2 separate regions of the Homo sapiens genome follow, and region 2 is linked to region 1. The links are contacts of gene promoters, found by promoter capture Hi-C in blood cells and fetal thymus (Javierre and others, 2016). All regions are on one chromosome and are shown on one strand. Each heading gives the region's core, a stretch centred on a gene start or on the middle of the fragment in contact. The rest is flanking DNA. Distances are from core to core; before and after follow the strand shown. Region 1 holds the start of GAS7 (growth arrest specific 7). Region 2 overlaps GAS7 (growth arrest specific 7).

Region 1 (7,051 bases), core at 3,567-6,066:
CACCATCTGATTGCAACTGCATGAGAGACACTGAGACAGACCAGCAGAAGAACCACCCAGCTGAGCCCCGTCAATCCACAAAACCATGCCAGATAATAAGAAATTGTTGCTTTGAAACACTAAATCTTGGAGTGGCTTGTTACATGGCAATAGATAAAACATCATTCCTTAATTATCCATAGCACAGCCCACTCTCTCCCACAGACACTCCTTATCAACTCCTGCAGCACAACTGCATGAACCCAAAATGGGAGAACAAAGGGTAGAGTGAAGAAAATCAAGTTTAACGGTGACCCTCAGCAGCCATTCTAGTTGTGCCAGCAAACAGTGTCATATTCTGTTAGTAACCCAGAAAGAAAGGAAAAGGCTCTTTTTAGGAAAGAGAAAAGGTCCAGATTATCCAGCCAGATCCTGGATTCTAAGAATACCACCTAGTTCAAAGAAAGCTCTATTTTGTTTGCATTCCAATCCCATTGTCCCCCAGAATTATTTCCCAAAAGCTCTGGGAAGTTTTGTAGATGCCTTACAACATTCCCCAGGTCCCTAATTTCTTCTCTCCATTCAAGGAAAGTACAGGCCACAGGAATTCCTGGACCCTATTAAACCCTCCAACCACTGACCTGTCCAGCCACTGGGCTTGTCCTGGTACCATGTCTTTCTCTCCAAATTTTCCCCAGGATGGAGATCTAGGATTCTCTATCCACCTTCCCCAGGAGCTATTTCTCAGCCTTGATGTACCCTAGAAAGCTGGTGGAAATATTCCCACATGTGGGGTTCCCAGGTCTATGGAGGCAATCTCAGGCCTAGCTTGGAGCTGGCAGAACATGCTCCCACAGCTCCTATCTCTGGTCTCAGGTCTCTTCCTCTACCATATCTCTCAAATGATGTTAAAAAGACTTCTCGGCCGGGCACAGTGGCTCACGCCTGTAATCCCAGCACTTTGGGAGGCCGAGGCGGGTGGATCACAAGGTGAGGAGATCGAGACCATGCTGGCTAACACGGCGAAACCTCACCTCTACTCAAAATACAACTGCACTCCAGCCTGAGCAACAGTGCGAGACTCTGTCTCAAAAAAAAAAAAAAAAAAAAAAAAAGACTTCTTAATTCCTGTCCCTCGTCATAGCAGAAGAAACCCTCAGGAAAGATTTTTCTAGTTGATTTTATCTAATAACCAGCTGTGGGCCTTGGCTGTAAGGCCTATTCCTTTTCTGGAGGTAGGTGTTTCCCTCTGCCCATCCTTTGAAGAGCTGCACCACCCCGAGTAGGAAGAACCCTTGTGGCCAGAGTCCTTGGGCCTACCAGAGACCTCTACACTTCCCTGCCTGTGCTGAGGTTTTCCTGGAAGCTGCTCTCTGGAAGCCAAGTATGTGCTATACCATTTCCTTGGAGTCTTGACCAAAGAGATTGCCCCAAAAACCAAGACCTCCTCCAAGCTGGCCTCCTCCCAAGGGCTAGCTGGCCACTGGGTCAGATCTGGTGACTCTCTTGGAGTTAGCTCCCAACTCCCCTCCCCCGTGTATGCTTCCTGCAAAGGCTGGGTCTCTCGGTTCCCCTTGCTTCATCTGAACAAGGAAGATCTCCTTGGGAAGTATCCAGTGTGCACACAGTATTCAGTGCCTCCCTCCCCTCCACCAAGATGGGGTTTCCTAGTATCACTCTTTCTATCAGGGTGAAAGTTCCGCTGGAGTAGGGAGCACATTAGAGATGCCATATTCATCTGTGTACCCACAATCCCATCCCTAGGCCAGGAGGCTAGTACAGTCCATCTGTCTGTACTTGTTTCTCCAACAGCTGCCCTGGCCTTCTGAACTCCATGCTCCCAAGCAAGCTGAGTGACAGCACCACATTGGCTGACATCTCATGAGGTTCGCCATCTCCAGTATCTATGGGCCCCCTCTCTAGTCTCATGAGTCCAGATGCTGGCCAGTCTACCCACCAGCCTGGGGACCTCTGCATTCTCTGAGTCTGCCCTTCAGGACTCACCCCATCCCAAGCAACTCTGCTTGCATGTCCTCTATCTCTACCTAGCCTTCAGCCTTGAGGTCCAACTTGCTCATGTAGGAGGTTCCCAGATGCCAAGCACCTGACCCACATGCCCCCCTGTTGAAACTGCATCTGCTTTGGCCCTGAGAAGAGTCCCACCCAGTACTTAGGATACAGGACTCGGGCCCACTGTGGGAAGACCCCCAGCTGGTTCTGAGTAAAGTCACACTTTGGGGTTAGCAGGGAAGATCCTCCAAGTTGCTCCTGGATGCAGCTGTCCTCGTTTTAGCCCTAGAGGTTCAGCCTCCCCTTCGCGGTGCTGTCACCAACATGCTGACCTCAGGGGCTGCGCATGCCCCTTTTCCCCATGGATCCAGACCCTTCGCTCACACGCTGTTTGGCATAGTTGAGCCCGGGCTATCATGTTTAAAAAAGGCACAGGCGCAGGGGGTGATACTCAGTCATCTGAGCTGCTAACAAAACACGCAAGCATTACTAGTTGGGGAGCTGACTTCGCCTCTCTCATATTCAGCTTGCTTGTCTATAAAATGGGGGAAGTACCTCACCCTTCACAGAGCTGTCAGGGAACTGGTGATAACGTGCACACACTGTGCCAAGCAGGTGCTCAGAAGTATTGCTCACGCAGATGGATGCTTCTGTTGCAAGTTACTAGTCAGGAATGGTCTGAGAGGCCCTGAGACACCAGAGATCTCTTACCTTTGTATATGCCAGAGGATGGGACAGACACACCCAAAACTGTCCCAGTTGTTAATTCCGCTTGTCCCCTGGCCCTGGTCCATCGTCCCTTTCCCGGAAGAAAAAGCAGCACTCCACTCTTGCTAACTAACACCTACCCAGCCTCACCCCTACACAAAACACAGCTGGCTCAGTCCAGCCAGGGATGCTCCTCACCGGACAGACATCCATCAGCCAAATTTCCACATCAGAATTTCCTGGAAAAGGGTGACCACCCGAAGAACTCCCAAAATACGTATCTATCCCAGGGCTTCAAGCTAGAAACAAGGAGGCCCCTTGCTTCTCATGTAAGAAGCAATACGTTCGCTTTCTTTTACATCCGAATCTCGGGAAAGGAACTGGAAAAGCCAGGGCAGGGCACACCTGAGCCTCTCCTACAAGTAGGGTATCTCCGGATTCTCCAGATACAGAACCAAGAGGGTTCCTGCAACATACTCTGCTGACAGCCCATGAAAGCTCATTCCAGCAGCCCCTAAACTTTGCTCAAATGCTACTGATGCCTTTAGGAGAGATTTTGTTGTTCTCTGGACCTGAAAGCAATCTAATGTACTTTTATAAGGCCAGGCTCTTGCTGACAATGTTGCCACAGGATACATCCTCAGGCGGACTCACCCTGTAACCATTTCACTTCTTTCTTTCTTCCCCCCGCCCCCGATGAATTGCACTGAGCATTCTCAGTCAAAATTTGCTACTTTCTCTGTGAAGTAGGTCAAGAGTTAAATAATAAATAAATTCAGCCTCCATGATTTCTTCCGGCAGTGTTTTACCAGAATGTTTAGGAATACTGACACCATTGAAGGTAACTGTTAATTTAGTCTTTACAAGAATCCTGGGGGCAGGCGGGCTTCTAGTAAAGGGGATGTCCTGGAAGGTCACCCCCCCACACACAAAGGACTTTAGAAACTTCGGGTCTCACTCAGGCTGTGACTGCGAGCTCAGTGATTAGAGGACAGCCTGTCACATAGACAATAAACAGCCAGCCGCCTTGCCTCAGCAGGTCCTGTGCAGCCCTGGGGCCAGGCCAGAACCCCAGGAACAAGCCACTTTCGGGTTCTGAGCCTTAGCCTCGGGGAGCTGGACCAGGGGAGCAGGCAGTGGCGGGGGGTGCTACGGCACCCCAGGATCAAGCCTGCTGAGGGGGCTCGGGCTGGTGGCCAGCAGGCTCGGCTGACCAGCAAGTGGGTGGTCCCGAGGCGGCCAGGCAGCCTGACCCAAGGCAGCACGACCGTCCACGGGTCATCAGGCTCTAGACTCCGGGGTGGAGACGCGGGGCTGCGGGACCGAGTCGGTGCCACTTTCTCGCACCCCTGATCCTCCGTGCCTCTTCCCAAGACCGCCAGACCCTTCACCGGCCCCTGCCACTGCCGGGAACGCTCCCGCCTGCTCCTTAACTCACACAGGCAACAAGTTCTCGCTTCCTCAGAGCAGCCACGGTGTGCTCCGGAGGCCCGGCGCAAGGTGGAAGCTCCCCGCGAGTCCGCGTTGCCCACGCCCCGAGGGGCGCCCGCTGCCGTCGCTGCCCCCCAGGAGCGTGGAGCTACAGGTAGCGCCGGCAAGGGCTGCCCCCCGGGGCGCCCCTCCGACCGGGACGCTGCGGCATCCCCGGAACGGGCAACAGGTACGCGAGCGCACCGAGGACCGCAGCCCCGGCTCCTACAGCCCCGGCCCTCGCCCCTTACCTCCAGCAACTGCACGTAGCTCGCCGGGAACCAGCCACGGAGCCCGTCCTCCTTCTCGCCTTCCCACCAGCCGCCGTCCGGGACCTGCAGCAGCGTGATCAGCTCGCCCGCGGCGAAGCGCAGCCCCTGGCCGTGCCGCTCCCCGGAGAAGGGGTACAGGGTCCGGCAGCGAGCGCCGGACATGGCCTTGGCGCCCGGGTTCACAGCGCAGCCTGCATTCCCGCCGAGCCCCACGGGCTGGGCAGCGGCTCCGCGGGGTCCCAGGCGCCCGGCGCTCCGGGCTCCCGCGCTCTGGGCGCGCGCCGTCTCTGGGGTGCGCGGGGGTCCTCAGGCAGGCGGGGGACGCGCGCTCCGCGCCGGGAAGCAGAGACTCGTTGGCTTCGCAGAGCGAGCGGCGACGCCCCCGGGCCGGGCAGCTCGCGGATCCTAGCTCTGGGCTGGGGGGCGGGGCTCAGGGGGAGGAGACCCAGGCGCCGCGGGCTCCGGAGACAACTTCCCGGGAACGCGGAACGCGGGCTGCCGCCGCGAGGGCTGGCCGGGGCCGGGGCCGGGACCGGGGCCGGGGCCGCCCTGGCGCGCGGAAATGCGCAGCTCCCCCGGGAGGTGGGACCCGGAGCATCCCCCGCGGCAGGACTCCGCGGCGGGCGGCCGTGGAGAGGAGCTGGCGGCCGGGTGGCCGGGCGGGGGTTAGCTCACTGGCGAGGGGGCGGGCCGGGGCGGGGCCAGGGCGGCCACGCCCGCGGAGGGCTGCGCGCTCCCTCGCAGAGGGGCCTGTCACTGGGGAGAGGGGCTCCCACTCGCGCCCCCACCGCCGGGGACCGCGGGAATGGAAACGCCCCTCTGTTCTGTGCCTGCTTTGTAGGCCTGGCGGCCCGTGGCGTGCGGGCGGCTTCTTCGAGGTGTCTGCGAGGGATCGTTTGTGGTTGTCATTGTAGTGGTTGAACCTGGGGTTGAACTTGTCTCACCGGAAACTGAACAATGGGTGAAAGACAGGTTTGAAGCCTGGCGCCTGAGCCCAGCAGCCTGGTGGCAGCGTGGCACGCTGGAGGGACGGAATGGAGAGAAGACGGGGTCGGAGTTGATAGAATTGGAAACAGTCGATGGGGATAAATGGAGGAAAGGCGAACGGTGAGAGGAACAGCACCAATGCTTTTACTTGCAGAGGGAAGGCCGGCCCAGGGTACCAGCCCTCCCGAAATCGAGATGGGTTGGCTAAAGAGTCTACACTCATGTAGTCAGTCAACAAACATTACCAGGAGGCTGCCATGTTCCATGCGATGTGCCAGGTACTACAAACATCATTTGGGCCAGTCCCTGCTCTCCAGGGACCAGTGAACCTGAGTGCTGCAGAATGTTGACCTTGAACTGACCGTACAGAAGTAAAAGAAAGCTTGGTTTCTTTGCTAGTCTACTCCATAAAAAATTTTAAAGAAATAAAATAAAGTACATTTTTTAGCCTGTAAATAGCTGGACTCGGCCAGGCGCGGTGGCTCACGCCTGTAATCCCAGCACTTTGGGAGGCTGAGGCGAATGGCTCACTTGAGGTCAGGAGTTCAAGACCAGCCTGGCCAACAAGGTGAAACCCCATCTCCACTAAAAATACAAAAATTAGCCGGGCGTGGTGGCGGGTGCCTGTAATCCCAGCTACTCAGGAGGCTGAGGCAGGAGAATGGCTTGAACCCGGGAGGTGGAAGTTGCAGTGGGCGGAGATCATACCACTGCATTCCAGCCTGGGTAACAAGGGTGAAACTCCGTCTCAAAAAAAAAAAAAGCTGGACCCTTTAATACGCCTGTATACCTCTGTCTACTCCTTCCCCCCTCCCCCAGTCACCTTCTGTGGCTCCCTATTGCCTTTTAAATTTGGTACAAACTTCTCTGCCTGTACATTTCAGGCCCTCCACAACGCCTCCTCTAGCTTCACCTCTTACTATGACTGCCTAGATATCCATTACAAAACCAGTCAGGCCGGGCTCCAAGAGCCTGAAGATCTTGCGCACCTGTCTATGCTTTGAATCAGACCCTGGCACAGAGCCTTTCACCTAGTTCAATGGTTCTCAATCCTGGCTGCACATTACAGTCATTATGCAACTTTTTAAAAATACTCATGCCCAGGTTTTAAGAGTCACTACTGAGCCCTAGTCTGCAGCTAAGCCATCTCACCTGAGCAGCCTCCATCTGTTCTCTGGCCATGGGCAAAGTGACACAAGCAGATTATTTGTAATAGTCCATCAATTGCAAAGTCTTGAACATTCGCTTGGCCGGAAATATAAAGAAACAAACTCTTGACCACAGTCACCACTAAGAGTCCCTTAAAGCGGAGCTGCATAACTTCATATCAAAAACAGTCATTAAAAATAGCTGGCCCAATGAAGTTTTAAAAGAGATACAATTCCTTGTATCAGGAAAATATGTGACTTCCAGCAGGCTGTTCTGAGGCTTCATTCCTGATGATGTGGCCTGAATCAAGGTAGGACAACTGATTTCCAGCCATCCTGCAACCCTAATTCTCTGCATGCCCGTGAGGAACTGTGATCCAGTTTGGACTTGAGAAATCGCAGCCTACACAGCATGCCATACACTTGAGTTCTACCTGACCCACCTCAAACATTCCTGCAGCAACCAAAAATGATAAT
Region 2 (7,668 bases), core at 2,581-5,080, 43 kb before region 1:
ATTCCAAAATGGAAGGAAAAGAGAGCCAGGACTTTCAGTTGCCAGTGGCAGAAATCCAATCCACAAGTTTAAGCCAACACAAAGGAGGATTTATCAGCATGCATCACTGGAGTTCAGTGATGCCTGGTTCCAGGGACTCACACAATGTCTACAGGACATCTTCTCTCACCTCTGACTGGCTGTCACGTGTAGGTGGACTCTGCCCCAACTAGAGAGCCACTGGTAACTTCCTCCCAACTTAGCAACGTATCTTGGTTGACAAGCCCCACCAAAGTCACATGGCGGGGTGAGAATAGGGAAGTTCCCCGAAAAGATGGGAGATAGAACATTATGACAGGCAGATCAAAACAGAAGCTGTACCAATCCACTTTAGTCAGCAATCGACTCCCCAAGAGAATCTTATTGAGGAACGATTCTGTGCTCAGCACCGTCTAAGGCATGCAGGCGGAACACAGAAGGATTCATCACAATACCTTGACTTTGTAAAGCATCACTTCCCAGTGAAGAATTGACTGTGCGTGCATTAGCTCTTAACCCTTAGAGTTCCCAGTACTTAGCTTAATTTCACACATGACAAAAGGAGACCCACCTAGACCGAGTGACTCATTCAAGGTCACACAGCCAAGATGTGACTCCAGATAGACATTCCCCCAGTCCAGTGCCTCGTCCACTGCTGCCGTGTGCAAGGGGCCATGTTAAACATGACGGTGGAGAGCAAGATGGCAGAGGAGGAGACGCAGCCTTCAAGGCCTCTCTATATTAACATAAATGCTCCAATCTGTCAATTCAGGGTGGCATGTGCAGGTGCCGCTTAGGTGCCTCCTCCCAAGGAAGACAAGGCCCTGAGAGCTGAAGATGAGCAAGAGTTTCTAGAGGAGGACTTTGCAGGATGCAGGGAGATGGTGAGGAGGGCCAGACAGGCCAAGCAAGGGTAGGTGCGTGGCCATTTCTTACACTTCTTCAGAAATCAATGAGAAACCTGGCTGGGCACAGTGGCTCACACCTGTAATACCCAGCACTTTGGGAGGCGGGTGGATTATCTGAGGTCAGGAATTTGAGACCAGCCTGACCAACATGGTAAAACCCCATCCCCACTAAAAATACAAAAAAAAAAAAAAAAAAAAATTAGCTGGGCATAGTGGCGGGCACCTGTAATCCCAGCTACTCAGGGTAGCTTAGGCAGGAGAATTGCTTGAACCCAGGAGGAGGAGGTTACACTGAGCCAAGATCACGCCATTACACTCCAGCCCAGGTGACACGGCAAGCCTCCGTCTCAAAAAAAAAACACTGGGCGTGGTGGCTCACGCCTGTAATCCCAGCACTTTGGGAGCCCGAGGTAGGCAGATCACGAGGTCAGGAATTCAAGACCAGCCTGGCCAAGAGACCAGCCTGGCCAATATGGTGAAACCCCATCTCTACTAAAAATACAAAAATTAGCCGGGTGTGGTGGCGGGTGCCTGTAACCCAGCTACTTGGGAGGCTGAGGCAGGAGAATTGCTTGTACCCAGGGGGCACAGGTTGCAGTGAGCTGAGATCATGCCACTGCACTCCAGCCTGGGTGACAGAGTGAGACTCTTTGACTCACAAAAAAAAAAAAAAAAAGAAATCAATGAGAAACCTGAAGCCTGACTGGCTGGAACAGAAGGAATCCGTAAGAAATGAGTAGAAGAATAAAATAATAATGTTTTTTAAATTAGTATTGTTCTTTTAAATTATTTACATGTATTAAATCATTCATTTACTTTTCCTATTTTATGAAATAAGTCCCACTATCATGCCCATTTTACAGATGAGGAAATTGATGTACCAAAAGGTTTGAGCAACTTCCTGCAGGTCAGAGTGACCAAGCAGGCCAGGTGAGGTGGCTCATGCCTGTAATCCCAGCATTTTGGGAGGCCAAGATGGGAGGATCACTTGAGGCCTGGAGTTCAAGACCGGCCTGGGCAACATAAAAAGATTCATCTCTATAAAAACAACAAGTTTTAAAATGTAATTTAGCTGGGTGTGGTGGTATGCACCTGTAGTCCCAGCTACTTGGAAGGTTGAGGCAGGAGGACTGCTTGAGCCCAGGAGTTTGAGGTAATAAACACAATAATAATGTAATCTGGATCTATAATTCCAAATAATTTCATCATGGGACATGGTAGAGAAAAGATAGAAAGGAAAGTAAAAATATGCTGAGACTCTTGCCTTTTTGGCAAATAGAATATAAATGCTGGTTAACTGTAGTCTTTGATTAAAATATATATTAAAATATACATATTAAAAATTCACACAGGCCAAACTGGGTCTGATGGCTCATGCCTGTAATCCAGACAGTTTGGGAGGCCGAGGCAGGAGGATCACTTGAGCTCAGGAGTTTAAGACCAGCCTGGGCAACATAGAGAGACCTTGTCTCTACAAGAAATAAAATTAAAAATTTAGCCAGGCATGGTAGCAAACATCTGTGGTCTCAGCTACTCAGGAGGCCAAGGTGGGAGGATTGCTTGAACCCAGGAGGTCGAGACTGCAGTTAGCAGTGATCATGCCACTGCACTCCAGCTTAGATGACAGGGTGAGGCCTTGTCTCAAGAAAAACAAAAAAAAAAAATTCACAGGCCAGGCATAGTGGCTGACGCTTGTAATCCCATCACTTTGGGAGGCTGAGGCCAGAGGATCACTTGAGGCCAGGAGTTTGAGACCAGCCAGGGCAGTATAGTGAGACTGCCGCCCAACCGCCCATCTCTATTTTTCAAAAAGAAAGAAAGAAAAACAGAGTGACTGAGCAGAGATTCAAAACTCAGTCCAAACCCACTGGTTTCCCTGTGCTCTTAACAACTGTATCATGCTGTCTATGGGTGATGCTCCCCAGCCAGCTAGAAAACACCTTCACTATAGGTGAAAAGTGGTGCTCACTGCACTGTGTTCAGGAAAAGTGTGTCCTGGAGAAACGCTTCATAAAGGTGGAGCTACCATTACCCCAATCCCCAACCCCAGGCTACACACACACACACACACACACACACACACACACACACACACAAAACCCATGTCCACAGTCTGCATGGGAACCTCCATCCCTAAATCCTACTAAACCAATAACTCTTTTTTTTTTTTTGAGACAAAGTCTCACTCTTGTCCCCCAGTCTGGAGTGCAGTGGCACGATCTCGGCTCACTGCGACCTCCGCCTCCCGGGTTCAAGCGATTCTCCTGTCTCAGCCTCCCGAGTACCTGGGATTACAGGTGCGTACCAACACACCCAGCTAATTTTTTGTATTTTAAGTAGAGATGGGGTTTCACCATGTTGGCCAGGCTGGTCTCGAACTCCTGACCTCAGGTGATCCACCCATCTCGGCCTCCCAAAGTGCTGGGATTACAGGTGTGAGCCACCGTGCCCGGCCACCAATAACTCTTTTTAAGACAAGAAATATTAAAGTAAAAACAATTCCTCTCCCTCCACTTCCCTTCTCCCAAGACTCTTCCTTCTGATAGCCATGTTTTCAGGCTCACCCCCAGCTCTGCCCTATTCAGAAACCAAAGGTCCTCATAAAAGTATTTGTAATAATGTGTGAATGACTCGTGAGCTTCAAATAACTGTCTCTGCAGCAAATGGCCAGCCTCCAAATAGAAGCTAGTTCAAGCCAGTTTCCTTGGCTCATTTCCCACCGCTATGTCAGGGATCAATTTAGACCATGGCCTCCCTCCCATTTTCTCTTCCCTGGCGGTACCATTCTTCTGGTCCTCCCACTCCCATCCCAAAACTGGTCCACTCAGTCCTCTCCTGTTCAGAGGCAGCCTTCATGACAGTGTCGGAGACCCTAAGGGTTAAATATACAGCAGTGGTTTAAAGTTTTACCTGTATTTACTCATTTGATCCTTAAAATAACCCTAAGAGACATGTATTATAATGGTCCTATTTCCAGATGAGAAATCTGAGATACAGAAAGGTTATGTAATCTGCCCAGGGACTCACAGCTAGTAAGTAGTACAGCTGGCATTGACACCCCGCACTCTCTGAACCACTATGCCACACAGGCATGGATGAGCAACCCTCACCAAGAGTCAGGTTCGAAGGGAATACATTCTCTTCCAACCATGCAACTGACTTCCTTACTTGTTCCATTGCCCCAGCCTAGAGACGAGATTCTCTAACTCCGACCTAGCTTCTTTCCCAACTCTGACTTTTTCTTCTTGCTCCACCCATCCTTAGCTCCGCCACAATGTCCCTCTCTTTCCATCACTTTTTTGGTCCTTGATAATATTTCCTTCGTAAGCAGATTTCTCCAAACCTCTACCCTGGGGAGCCCATTCTGGCATTCCACCTCCTAAACCCATGTTCCTGCAAAGTGTCTCTGTTGTCCTAGCCCTCCATGCCACAGCCATGGGTGCCCTTCGCCTGTTTCTTGACTCAAGCCAGGCAGGAGGAGGATCTTTATGAACAAGATCCCCCACCCCATATGTCTGCATTTAATTTCAGATCAGTTCCTAGGCCAAAGCTCTCTTCCAAACTCGTCAAGAGAAGTTTTAAATATATTCTCCCAGAGCAAATAATTTTGTGTTTTAACATGGGACAAAGCTCTAGAAACATCTCTGGGCTGGTGACTCTCCACTTGCCTGTCGGGAGCTAGCTTTGGCCCTTCTCCTGCAGCTCCTGCACCAGAAGGCTGACCCACAGGGACTCCAGGGACCCTCGCACCCTCTGGCTACAGTGAAAGACAATTTGGCCACTGAAAGTCATAGGTAGGAGATGAAGGTTCATGAGGAAAGCGAGGTTGGGGTATTTTCACCAGTTCCCTCCTAGCAGGCTGCAGGCTGCAGGCTGGGGTTGGGAGTAGCAGTGGCTTCTTTAGAGCAGTCGGCCCCCTCCTGCTGCAGGCCTCCCTCCCTTTTCCCCTCTCTGGGCGTGCTTCCCCATCCTCTACCCTGCTCAAGCCTCTATAAACAGCCCCTCCTTCAAACTCCCCACTGCCTTCCCAATCAAGATCCCCCTCCAGGCACCCTCAATAGTGGAGTTCAGACACAGCCACTGAGGACAAGCTCTCTGCAAGCCCTGGACACCAAAGTATTTTGGTGACCACTTCCTCCTAACCAGGCCTTGGTCGGTGGCTCCTTCACAAAATGACATCTGAGAAGAAACAGAAAGCCAAATGAGGATGTGGGTGGCCCTGCTCCTCCCCGGACACAGACCCATGCATCATGACAAGGCCACACATGCCCAGTCACAGGATTTGACACATGGGACCCCTGGGAGAAGGAGGAAACACCCACGGCTTACAAACCCGCAGCAAACCCAGAGTCCTCAGCCTAGGAAAGGGGCTGGGGACAGGGCCTGACACCCTGAAGTGCAAGGCCTGCCAACCTTGGAGCTGACGAGGGGAATAATTTTTTTAAAGATCCATTACTGTCAACTGCCCCCGGGAACACCCTTCTTTGCACCAACTCCCCTGCCTTTCAATATGAAGACAAGTCTGACGCCTACGTGGGGAACTCAAAGTCACACTTCCTCTGGCAGCCGTTGGTCAAACCGCTTTATAAATCTGCTAATGATTTTGTGTTATCCTGCTAGACTGACACTCGTTGGAAAAAAAAGTTACATAACTGGAAATGATTAGAAGATAAGGCTTTGAGCATCATGCTTGGAAATTTCACTGCTCTGCCCAATTTTGGGCTGAGTTTTAACAAACCAGCATTTCCTGGCTCCTGACACTGGGAAGCCTTGTAGGTGTGAGAATCTGCTTCCAGTTAATAGTAGACACTTTGGAACCAGGTTTGTCACATGAATATACCCTTGGTCCTCCCGTCAGTCAACTGGACTCTTCACCCTCCCCGCAAAAAATTTAAAAGCCACCCTTAGACATATCACCCTTAGGCATATCACCCTTAGACACACACAATTTCACACACATGTGAAACCCAGATGGCCAGTAAGCATATAGGTACTCGTAGGCTGGACATGGTGGTATCCACCTGCAGTCCCAGCTACTCTAGGAGGCTGGGATGGGAGGATTGCTTGAGCCCAGGAGATTGAGGTTCCAGTGAGCTATGATCGTACCACTGCGCTCCAGCCTAGGCAACAGAACAAAATCCTGTTATTTTATTTTATTTTTATTTTTTGAGACGGAGTCTCGCTCTGTCACCCAGGCTGGAGTGCAGCGGCACAATCTCGGCTCACTGCAAGCTCTGCCTCCCAGGTTGATGCCATCCTCCTGCCTCAGCCTCCCTAGTAGCTGGGTCTACAGGCGTCCGCCACCACACCTGGCTAATTTTTTTGTATTTTTTTAGTAGAGACGGGGTTTCACCGTGTTAGCCAGGATGGTCTCGATCTCCTGACCTTGTGATCCACCCACCTCGGCCTCCCAAAGCGCTGGGATTACAGGCGTGAGCCACCGCACCCGGCCAATCCTGTTTTTTCTTTTTTTGGTAAAAAAAAAAAAAAAAAAAAAAAACAAGGCCAGGTGCAGGGGGCTCGCATCTGTAATCCCAACACTTTGGGAGGCCGAGGTAGGAGAGTCACTTGAGGCCAGGAGTTCAAGACCAGCCTGGGTAACATAGCAAGATCCCACCTCTATAAAAAGAAAAATAAAAAAAGATATGTGCATTACACTGTATGTAAGTTAATGCTCTGTATACTGAACTCCTTAGAATGAAGTATACTGCTGTTCTCAACTTACTTTGAAATGTTTCCAAAAAAATACGATTGATGGAAGGATAGAAGGTTAGATATGCAATAAAACAAGTATAAGAAAATGTTAATGGCGGAATCTGATGATGGGTATATAAGTGTGCACTGTAATTCTTGCAACTCTTCAAATTTTTCATAATAAAATTCTGAAAAATTGCTAATTAAAAAGGTAAAGAGGCCAAGCACAGTGGGGCACACCTGTAATCTCAGCACCTTGGGAGGCCAAGGTGGGAGGATCATTTGAGCTGAGGAGTTCAAGATCAGCCTGGGCAACATGGTGAAACCTCATCTCTTCTAAAAAATACAAAATATTAGCTGGGCATGGTGGCATGCACATGTAGTCCCAGATACTCGGGAGGCTGAGGTGAGAGGATCATCACCTGAGCCCAGGAAGTGGAGGCTGCAGTGAGCCAAGATCACACCACTGCACTCCAGCGTGGACAACAGAGTGAGACACTGTCTCTAAAACATATATATATATATATATATATATATATATATTAAAGATAACACACACGCACAATGTGAGACCCCTACACGTTCACCCAAATGACTAAAATCTGTAAAACCAGCAATGGCACACACAGACAAGGATGTAGAACTATGAGAAGTCACAGACAGTGCCAGTGGGAGTGGAACACTATTTGGTAGTATTTCCCAAGAGTAAACATATGATACACATATTCTATGACCTAGCAATCCTACCCCTAGGTGAATACCCAACACAAATGAGAGCTTTCGTCCACCAAAAACATGTACGAGAATGTTCAAGGTAGCACTGTTCATAATAGTATGAAAGAACCCAAAGATCCAAGAGTAGGATAAATAATTGATGGTGTATTTATTCATAGGGTGACACACTACACAGCAATGAGAATGAACTACTGCCACCCATAATATAGGTGAATCTCACAAACAAGGTGTTAAGTGAGAAAAGCCAGATGCACCCCCCCCAACCTCCATCACCAAAAAGAATAACTTCTCTATGCTCAGTTTATGTAAAATT

Evidence for each region. The method cuts DNA at HindIII sites, captures the fragments that hold promoters and counts their contacts. A CHiCAGO score of 5 or more calls a contact.
Region 2: a contact is called between a fragment that was not itself captured here and the fragment with the promoter of GAS7 in region 1, in 3 of 17 cell types (monocytes, neutrophils and M0 macrophages). The highest score is 10.6, in monocytes.

What each region holds. Positions count from the first base shown.
Region 1 is chr17:10,193,790-10,200,840 of GRCh38, forward strand. GAS7 (growth arrest specific 7) reads right to left here and starts at 4,817. Exons shown (of 14, transcript NM_201433.2): 1 at 4,419-4,817. The coding sequence starts at 4,601. The HindIII fragment of the contact is 8,346 bases long and covers 1-5,806 here.
Region 2 is chr17:10,151,935-10,159,602 of GRCh38, forward strand. All of the region lies in intron 1 of GAS7 (growth arrest specific 7), which reads right to left. Among named protein-coding and RNA genes, the nearest start is that of GAS7, 43 kb to the right of the region's middle. RefSeq lists an enhancer at 5,225-5,444. The HindIII fragment of the contact is 9,434 bases long and covers 1-7,668 here.